3 separate regions of the Homo sapiens genome follow, and all the other regions are linked to region 1. The links are contacts of gene promoters, found by promoter capture Hi-C in human tissues and cell types (Jung and others, 2019). All regions are on one chromosome and are shown on one strand. Each heading gives the region's core, a stretch centred on a gene start or on the middle of the fragment in contact. The rest is flanking DNA. Distances are from core to core; before and after follow the strand shown.

Evidence for each region. The method cuts DNA at HindIII sites, captures the fragments that hold promoters and counts their contacts. A contact is called where the count stands out against the background at its distance.
Region 2: a contact is called between a fragment that was not itself captured here and the fragment with the promoter of SPINK8 in region 1, in 2 of the 25 tissues and cell types used here (IMR-90 fibroblasts and aorta).
Region 3: a contact is called between a fragment that was not itself captured here and the fragment with the promoter of SPINK8 in region 1, in 3 of the 25 tissues and cell types used here (IMR-90 fibroblasts, liver and thymus).

Annotation. Positions count from the first base shown.
Region 1 is chr3:48,332,280-48,335,841 of GRCh38, reverse strand. It overlaps SPINK8 (serine peptidase inhibitor Kazal type 8 (putative)), which reads left to right and starts at 2,181. Exons shown (of 8, transcript NM_001080525.3): 1 at 2,181-2,307; 2 at 3,371-3,476. RefSeq lists a silencer at 1,636-1,836. The HindIII fragment of the contact is 10,965 bases long and covers 1-3,562 here.
Region 2 is chr3:48,411,771-48,415,313 of GRCh38, reverse strand. PLXNB1 (plexin B1) reads left to right here. Exons shown (of 38, transcript NM_001130082.3): 20 at 1-138; 21 at 273-515; 22 at 1,243-1,419; 23 at 1,496-1,644; 24 at 2,145-2,245; 25 at 2,355-2,572; 26 at 2,694-2,872; 27 at 3,010-3,076; 28 at 3,305-3,451. Among named protein-coding and RNA genes, the nearest start is that of PLXNB1, 17 kb to the left of the region's middle. The HindIII fragment of the contact is 6,083 bases long and covers 1-3,543 here.
Region 3 is chr3:48,457,774-48,460,492 of GRCh38, reverse strand. It overlaps ATRIP (ATR interacting protein), which reads right to left. Exons shown (of 13, transcript NM_130384.3): 6 at 1,039-1,134; 7 at 577-706; 8 at 1-383. It overlaps ATRIP-TREX1 (ATRIP-TREX1 readthrough), which reads right to left. Exons shown (of 15, transcript NR_153405.1): 6 at 1,039-1,134; 7 at 577-706; 8 at 1-383. Among named protein-coding and RNA genes, the nearest start is that of TREX1, 7.1 kb to the left of the region's middle. The HindIII fragment of the contact is 6,156 bases long and covers 1-2,719 here.

The sequences.
Region 1 (3,562 bases), core at 932-3,431:
GTGAGGCCAAGAACCCCAGGTCAGAGAACAAAAGGCTTGCCGCCATCTTGGGAGCGGCCTGCCACCATCTCAGGAGCTCTAAGAACAAAGACCTGCCTGGTAACAGCTGTTGGCCCGTACAGGTATTCTCCAAAGTGGTGAGTAATATTGAACCACTTTAGCTTGCTATCCTGTCCTATCCTTCCTTAGAATCAGAGGAAATACCGGGCACCTGTCAGCCAGTTAAAAATGATTAGCATGGCCACTGGACTTAAGACTCAGCTGTGAGGCTTTCTGGGAAAAGGCTTTCTAACAACCCCCAACCCTTTGGGGTTAGGAGCGTTGGTCTGCCTGGAACCAGCTTCCGCTTTCACAATTTCCTGGGGGGAAGCCGAGGGCCGACTAGAGGCAGAAAGCTGTCGTCCTGAACTCCCGGCATTGGCTGGTTGAGATCATGGTGCAGCCAGAAGTCTCTACTCAACAGTTGCCCACGTGTGCACCCCTACCTTTCCTTCTGACCCATACCTCCTGGGTCCCGACCATGACTTTCTTGAAAGTGTAGCCCCAAAAATTCTCCTTACCTCTGAATCTACTTCCTCCAATCCCTGCCTCCTAGGTACTAATGCTTCAGACTTTCATTTCCTCTCCCAAGTATTAGAGCAAGTTGTATCTCCAAAGAGATCTAAGGAAGCTCTATGCTGTGGCCTTAGATATCTAGGCTATGAACCCAGGGAGTCTTGCCCCTGGTGTCCCTCCCAATTTAGGTATATAGCTGTCAACATGGGCTGTTATGTGGGACCCATTCCCCACCACCCTTGCCAGGGCCCCAAGTTTGTAAATAGCTAGGAAGATCGCTCTCCCATTGTGTAAGATGCTCTCCTCCCCTAATTTCTACCCAGTTTACTACCCCCTGCAATACAATCTCCAAGCCTTGGCTCCTTGGCCAGGCCCTTAGAACTGATAACCCAGTATTTTAACAACTGGAACTGAGTCTACAACAACATAATAGATCAGGATGAAAACGAATTTGAGTAAATTAAAGGGAGGCACATGTTCCTATAGTGGCAAACTGGGGCAACAAGTGAACGTCCTTCCACTGCGTTTCCAAAATCCATCTAAAAAAAGACAGACAGAGAGAGGAAGAGGCAGAAAGTCAAAGAGAGAAAGAAAGAAAAAAGGGAAAGAGAGAGGTAGTAAAGAAAAAACAGTGTACCCTATTCCTTTAAAAGCCAAGGTAAATTTAGAACCTATAATTGATAATTAAAGGTCTTCTCCACGACCCTATAATACTCCAATACTACCTTGTTGTCAGTGTAAACAAGGGCGTAGCCCGAAAACACTGAGACCACTGACAACCCATAGCCTTCCTATCAAAAATCCTGAACCCAGTAACCCGTGGATGGCCCAAATGCATTCAATCTGTAGTGGCAACTGCTTTGCTAACAGAATAAAGTAGAAAAATAACCTTTAGAGGAAACCTCATTGTGAGCACACCTCACCAGTTCAGAACAATCCTAAGACCAAAAAAAAAAAAAAAAAAAGGTAGCTTACTAGCTCAAAATTCTTAAAGTATGGGGCTATTCTGTTAGAAAAAGGTGATTTAACACCAACCACTGATAATTCCCTTAACCCAGCAGATTTCCTAACAGGGGATTTAAATCTTAATTGCCATGCAAAGGTCCAACCAGACCTAGGAGGAACTTCCTTTAGGATAGGACGATAGATGGTTCCTCCCAGGCGATTGAGGAAAAAACCACAATGGGTATTCAGTAATTGATAAGGAAACTCTTGTGGAAGCAGAGTTAGGAGAATTGCCTCATAATTGGTCTGCACAAACTGCGAGCTGTTTGCACTCAGCCAAGCCTTAAAGTACTTACAAAAAGAGCAAGCCCATCTTTTTCTCCTCGCTCTCCTTCTCGTAGGAAAAAGGCACATAGGATAAACAGGAGCCATCTCTCATATTTCGTACCCAAAAGGACTTAATCCAGGGCAACAAAATCTTAAGTTCGATAATTAAGGCATATTCCTACAAAGGAAAAGGACAAAGGCCCTAGTGGGCAAAAACTCTATCTCAATCCTGACTCAAAAGGTTACCTACACCCTCTCTGAAACGAATTTGCATAAGAACTGTTGTTTATGAAAATGCATCTTGATGGGGCAACTGGGTTGTTATGAAATACTCAGAAACCCAGCCCAGCTCTAGAACTCACTCCTGAGTGCAAAGGCAATGTCAGGCACGCTGGTAAAGGACCACTAGAATCCAGCAGCCCAGACCCCTTTCTTTGTGGTCAAGAAGGGCAGGAAAACAGGTGCAGGACTGCTACATCGGTGAGTGTAACTAATCTGATAAGCAGAGGTCCGTGGGTGGTTACGCACCCTGAAAAGGAATAAGCATTAGGACCACAGAGGACGCTCTAGGACTAATGCTCATCAGAAAATGACTAGGGGTGCTGGCATCCCTATGTTCTTTTTAAACGTTCCCCCCTCCCAGGCAAAAACGCCCCTAAGATGTATTCTAGAGAATTAGGACCAATTTGACCCTCAGATGCTAAGAAAGAAACGACTTATATTCTTCTGCAGTACCCCTGGCCACAATATCCTCTTCAAGAGGGAGAAACATGCCCTCCAAGGGAAGTATAAATTATAACACCATCTTACAGCTAGACTTCTTTTGTAGAAAATAGGGCAAATGGAGCGAAGTGCCATATGTGCAAACTTTCTTTTCATTAAGAGACAACTCACAATTATGTTAAAAGTGTGATTTATGCCCTACAGGAAGCCCTCAGAATCTACCCCCCTGCCCCGGCGTTCCCCCGGCTCCTTCCCCAACTAATAATGACCCCCCTTCAACACAAACGGTGCCAAAGGAGATAGAGAAAGGGGTAAACAATGAACCAAAGAGTGCCAATATTCCCAGATTATGCCCCCTTGAAGTGGTGGGAGGAGGAGAATTCAGCCCAGAGTGTGTGTACCTTTTTCCCTCTCAGACTTGAAGCAAATTAAAATAGACCTAGGTAAATTCTCAAATAACCCTGATGGCTATATTGATGTTTTACAAGGGTTAGGACAATCCTTTGATCTGACATGGAGAGACATAATGTTACTGCTAGATCAGATACTAACCCCAAATGAGAGAAGTGCCGCTATAACTGCAGCCCAAGAGTTTGGCAATCTCTGGTATCTCAGTCAGGTCAATGATAGGATGACAACAGAGGAAAGAGAACGATTCCCCACAGGCCAGCAGGCAGTTCCCAGTGTAGACCCTCAATGGGACGCAGAATCAGAATGTGGAGATTGGTGCCGCAGACATTTGCTAACTTGCATGCTAGAAGGACTAAGAAAAACTAGGAAGAAGCCTATGAATTATTCAATGATGCCCACTATAACACAGGGAAAGGAAGAAAATCCTACTGCCTTTCTGGAGAGACTAAGGGAGGCATTGAGGAAGCATACCTCTCTGTCATCTGGATCTATTGAAGGCCAACTAATCTTAAAGGGTAAGTTTATCACTCAGCTGCAGACATTAGAAAAAAACTTCAAAATCCGCCTTAGGCCTGGAACAAAACTTAAACTAAGAACTTGG
Region 2 (3,543 bases), core at 376-2,875, 80 kb before region 1:
CTGGACGTGGTACAGACGCCAAGAATCCGGGTGACCGTGGTCTCGAGAATGCTGCAGCCCAGCCAGGGGCTTGGACGGAGGCGTCGCGTGGTCCCGGAGACGGCATGTTCCCTTGGACCCTCCTGCAGTAGCCAGCAAGTAGGACACCCTTGGGTACCCCCACACTCTCCCCTTGCCCCATACCACACCCTGGGGACAGCCAGAGCAGGTGCCAGAGGAGGCTCTTCCCATCTTTGCTTGGCCCCTCGTCAACCTGCCTGTCTTCCTTCCAGTTTGAGGAGCCGTGCCATGTCAACTCCTCCCAGCTCATCACGTGCCGCACACCTGCCCTCCCAGGCCTGCCTGAGGACCCCTGGGTCCGGGTGGAATTTATCCTTGACAACCTGGTCTTTGACTTTGCAACACTGAACCCCACACCTTTCTCCTATGAGGCCGACCCCACCCTGCAGCCACTCAACCCTGAGGACCCCACCATGCCATTCCGGCACAAGCCTGGGAGTGTGTTCTCCGTGGAGGTACAGCTCCTACTTGGACCTGGCAGGGCCCCGAGACCCTTCCCTTGGCTGGACAGCACTGCTGTGTGTGGCGGAGAGGCCGAGACAGTAGAGCAAGGGCCGGTGGATGGACATGGCTCCTCATCCTTGCTGTGGTGGGGGCAGAGGGGGCTGGTGGGGGGTGCCTAGCCTAGCATCTGGCACGAGCTGGACTGCTTGGCTGGTGGCCCGGGTCCTGATGCACTCCATGGCAGGCTCTGGAATGACTGCATTTGTATGTTCGGCCTGTGCAGTAGCTGGGTGGTGTGGTCCACATAGGCCATCGGGCTGACCCCCGTTGGCAGCCTGGCTCACATGGACATGCGCTAGGCATGTGTCTTGGACATACACAGTGGGCAGCAGATGGGCATGCGGGCAGACCACAGGTTGATACAGCATCATCACCCCCCTGGTGAGTCATCAGACACAGATTGGGGGCTCCAGCTTTGTTAGGTAGCTGGGCAGGATTTGGGAGGCAGCTTTATGTTCTCCAGATTTTTCGTTCTGGAGAAGAAAGATAGGAAAGGGCAACAAAGGGTGATGAGGAGCAGCTTGGAGGACACCGTGTGACTGGCCTGCACTCGGGAAGGGTGCTGAGAGGCTGTCAGCTTTGCTGCTGCGGCTGGGTCTCAGGGTCCTTCCCACATTTGGGGAGGACAGGATCTGAGGGAAGGGTCCTGAGTGACTGATCGGTGACCCTCTGTTCCAGGGGGAGAACCTGGACCTTGCAATGTCCAAGGAGGAGGTGGTGGCTATGATAGGGGATGGCCCCTGTGTGGTGAAGACGCTGACGCGGCACCACCTGTACTGCGAGCCCCCCGTGGAGCAGCCCCTGCCACGGCACCATGCCCTCCGAGAGGCACCTGACTCTTTGCCTGAGTTCACGGTCAGTGGGCAGGTCCCTGGCCGGGCTGGGCATTGACCTGGGCCAAACCCTTGCTCACAGGTGGCTCCTGACACAGGTGCAGATGGGGAACTTGCGCTTCTCCCTGGGTCACGTGCAGTATGACGGCGAGAGCCCTGGGGCTTTTCCTGTGGCAGCCCAGGTGGGCTTGGGGGTGGGCACCTCTCTTCTGGCTCTGGGTGTCATCATCATTGTCCTCATGTACAGGTGGGTGCAGCCAGATGTGGCTGGGCTGGGGCAGGTCGTGGGATCTGGCTGGACTGGGAAGGGACAGACCGGGCCAGGAGTCAGGAAACATTCTCTGTAAATGGCCAGAGAGTAAATATTTTCGCTTTGCAGGCCAAGTGGTCTCTGTTCAACAACTCAGCTTTGCCACTGTGGCACAAAGGCAGCCAGGGACGACATGGAAACACATGAAAGTGGCTGTGTTCTAACAAATCTTTATAAAAATAGGTTGTGGGATGGATTTGGCCTGGTTGTGGTTGGCTGATCTCTAGGCTAAACTGTGCTGGGCTAGACGGGGCATGGGTGTGTGTGACTTGCTTGGGACGGGACAGGCTGAATCGTACTGGGCTAGGCTTGAGCTTGGCTGGCATGGCTGCATTGGACTGTGCTGGATGAGGCCGGGGTGTGCCTGGGGATTGTCAGGCAGGCCTGGGCGAGTAGGACTCATCTGGCCATCCTCTCCTGACCCTGGGGCTGAGCAGGAGGAAGAGCAAGCAGGCCCTGAGGGACTATAAGAAGGTTCAGATCCAGCTGGAGAATCTGGAGAGCAGTGTGCGGGACCGCTGCAAGAAGGAATTCACAGGTGTGGCTGAGAGAATGGGCCCCGCCCTCCAGAACTCTGCCCAAACCCACTCCCATCACACGGGATTGGTGCTTAACAGGTGCTTAACCTGGCCTCTTCTGCTTAACAGACCTCATGACTGAGATGACCGATCTCACCAGTGACCTCCTGGGCAGCGGCATCCCCTTCCTCGACTACAAGGTGTATGCGGAGAGGATCTTCTTCCCTGGGCACCGCGAGTCGCCCTTGCACCGGGACCTGGGTGTGCCTGAGAGCAGACGGCCCACTGTGGAGCAAGGGCTGGGGCAGCTCTCTAACCTGCTCAACAGCAAGCTCTTCCTCACCAAGGTACCCCCAGCTGCATCTTCCTGGCCTGCCCCTGGCCCTGCCCCTTCTCCAGGGCATGGTTTCTGAGCCCGCCCCTCTGTCCCCCTAAACCCCTTTTCCCATCCCTTCTCTTTGGCTGCAGTTCATCCACACGCTGGAGAGCCAGCGCACCTTTTCAGCTCGGGACCGTGCCTACGTGGCATCTCTGCTCACCGTGGCACTGCATGGGAAGCTTGAGTATTTCACTGACATCCTCCGCACTCTGCTCAGTGACCTGGTTGCCCAGTATGTGGCCAAGAACCCCAAGCTGATGCTGCGCAGGTCTGTGTGGCTGTTGGGGCTGGGTGGGCCCTGGACAGCTGGAGCTGGGGTGGGGCCTCGGGCTGGGGGGTCTGCAGGATAGAGAGGCCCGCAGCCCCACCTGCTGACCCTGGCACTCCCCTTTCCCATCATCTCAGGACAGAGACTGTGGTGGAGAAGCTGCTCACCAACTGGATGTCCATCTGTCTGTATACCTTCGTGAGGGTGAGGGGGCAGAGGTGGACAGGGCTCCTGTCCAGGGAGGGTCAGGCCCTCCAAACTTCTAAGCCCTCAGCCACCATGCAGCTCGGACACTTGTGCCAGAGCAGAGACTCCTGCTCAGCCTGTCCTCAGTCCCCTTAAGCCCATGTCCTGTCCCCTTCCCCAGTGTGCGTCATGTCCCATACACCTCTGCCACCTGCTGGGGGGCCCTAACTGCCTGTGCTCTCCTAGGACTCCGTAGGGGAGCCTCTGTACATGCTCTTTCGAGGGATTAAGCACCAAGTGGATAAGGGGCCAGTGGACAGTGTGACAGGCAAGGCCAAATACACCTTGAACGACAACCGCCTGCTCAGAGAGGATGTGGAGTACCGTCCCCTGGTGAGGGTGTGCAAGTGTGTGGCCTGCAGTCTGAGTGCGGTGAGGGCGAGGGTGGAGAGTGTGTGGGTGTGTGGGGTCTGGACACCAGCTTC
Region 3 (2,719 bases), core at 95-2,594, 130 kb before region 1:
TAAGTGCAGTCACAGAGAAGCCTTCCAGGATGCACACTGAGTCCTCAGGGTTGGTCTCTACCCCAGAGCTCACGCAGGAGGAATGTGTCGGTGAGTCCCCAGGTGCTCCGCTTCTCTTAGCAGCTGCCAAGTCCTGCAGGGCCTGGCAGTGTAAGCCGATGAAGAACTGTACAAGGGGGAGGAAATGCACGGCTCCAGGAAGCTGGCAGAGTGGGAAGGCCCTTCTGCCTCCCTCTGCTGGGTCTCCATCACGTGAGCACTCATTCCGGGCAACCAGATTCAGTCCAGTGAATGCCAGGTTCTGTGCTTCTCTCAGGGCTGAGAGGGAAAATGACCCATCATAAGAACCTGTGGTCCTGAGGCCTGACATTCCAGCCAAGGTACTGGCAACAAACACAAAGAAAAATAGATTAAGTGTGGGATGGAGATAAGGTCAAGAGCCCCAAACAGCCTGCCTGCCAAATTCTCCAGGCTGCCTGCCCTTCCCACAGACTTCTCAGGCTGGCCAGGGCCAGAAAGGAATTTGCTTCCAGGAAGCTCCTTCCCAAACAAGCTTTCCAGGAGTCTTATGCTTACCTGCCAAACCCTGGTGGCTGCAGGGGGGTGCCAGCAGGAGACTCAGAACTACTACTCAGGAGGTGGCAAAGGCTTAGGGATGACCCTGGGATCAAAGGCTGCTTCAGGAGCAGGTTTATCAAAATGGAACCTGCAGAAGACAAGATGACTCTAGAAGGTTCTGACATGGGAGATCTTTTCGGTGGCTTTCAGAAGGAAACAGTAAGGATTCTTTGGATGCCAACTGTCCTCTAGGCTGCCACTAAGCCCCAGGAAGATGCCTGTGGGTGCGGAAGGCTCTGGGACATACCTGCCCTTGGCCCTTTCCACTTTATAAAGTCTTCTGCTTAAGCCACATACTTTGACTTCCCTGGACTCTCTGAAGGACTGCCCGGGGCACCGGTTCTCAGAGGCCTGGGCAATTCTTCTGCATATTACTCAGAGCCATGCAGGCCCCTGCAGGAGAAGCAGGGATTCTGGTACCTTGAGTGTTTGATCTCTGTCTCCAGCTGTCAACAAAGCTTTTCTGGGCCTCTTCTTGTTTTATGGAGTCACCTCTCAGACTGTGGGGCTTACTATCTGAAATGTGATAAAATGTAAATCAAAACTTGAGCCCAGAAGCATGGGCATATTAGAAACTTTTACATGCAATGAGTTTAAAACACACGCTGTTCTACTTCTTCGAACTTGGAACAAACAAGAGCCAAAGCGGCTCAAGAGCCCTGCATCTTTTACCTTCCTTATGTAAAACAGGAACTCATACAAGGAAAGGAAAAGAAAATCAAGCTGTTTGCCTCACTCAAAATGAGGCAATTAGATAAAACAGTGACCACTAACATTGACATGGTGCTTGTTACGTGCTAGACAGTGTTTTAAGAGCTCTATACGCATCAGCCCATTTGTTCCTCAGTGACCCTACAAGGATTTATCATTAGGTCTGTTTTACATATAGGGAAACTGAGGCACAGAGACTAAAGGACTTGCCCAAATCATATAAGCCAGTTAACAGCATTACTGGGACTCACATCCAGGCTACTGGGCTCTACTGCCTGCTTGTAACACTACTGTACACTGCCCCTTTAGCTGCTAGATGCCAAAAATGTAAGTGGGCTACAGTTTCTCAGAAGTGTTATGATGGCCAAGGATTTGAAAGGTTGATGGTAAGAAGAGGGTCAATGTATCCGATTTATAAGATACACTGACATAGCAGTCTGAAAACCTACTGATGTTAGATTGTCTCTCTCTAAAAAACAGCAGATCCCCTCAATCTGGACTGAGTTATAAAAACTCAAAAGCTGGACTACAAAAGGAAAACAGAGGCTGGGCACGGTGGCTCATGCCTGTAATCCCAGCATTTTGGGAGGCTGAAGTGGGTGGATCACGAGGTCATGAGATTGAGACCATCCAGGCCAACATGGTGAAACCTGTCTCTACTAAAAATACAAAAATTAGCTGGGTGTGGTGGCGCATGCCTGTAGTCCCAGCTACTCGGGAGGCTGAGGCAGGAGAATCGCTTGAACATGGGAGGCAGAGGTTACAGTGAGCCGAGATCACGCCACTGCACTCCAGCCTGGTGACAGAGTGAGACTCCGCCTCAAAGAAAAAAAAAAAAAACAAGAAAAGAAAAACAGATTCCTGCATACTAGCTAGGTTTTTGGCATGGTCAATTGATGCTGTGATGGTTTAAAAATATGCCCACAAGCATGATGGCAGGTGCCTGTAATCCCAGCTATTCGGGAGTCTGAGGCAGGAGAATCACTTGAACCCGGGAGGCGGAAGTTGCAGTGAGCTGAGATCGTGCCATTGCACTCCAGCCTGGGTGACAGGGTGAGACTCCGCCTCAAAAAAAAAAAAAAAAAGGCCCACAAATGCTTTGACACAACTCCCCTTCAAAAGGTATAAGCTTGGGAGGAGGGGGGAGGGATAGCATTAGGAGATATACCTAATGCTAAATGACGAGTTAATGGGTGCAACACACCAACATGGCACATGTATACATACGTAACACACCTGCACGTTGTGCACATGTACCCTAAAATTTAAAGTATAATAATAAAATAAAAATAAAAAATAAAAATTAAAAAAAAGGTATAAGCTTGGTTTCTCCCCTTGAATGACGCCCAGACTCAGTGATTTGCTTCTAACAAATACAATGTGGCAGAGG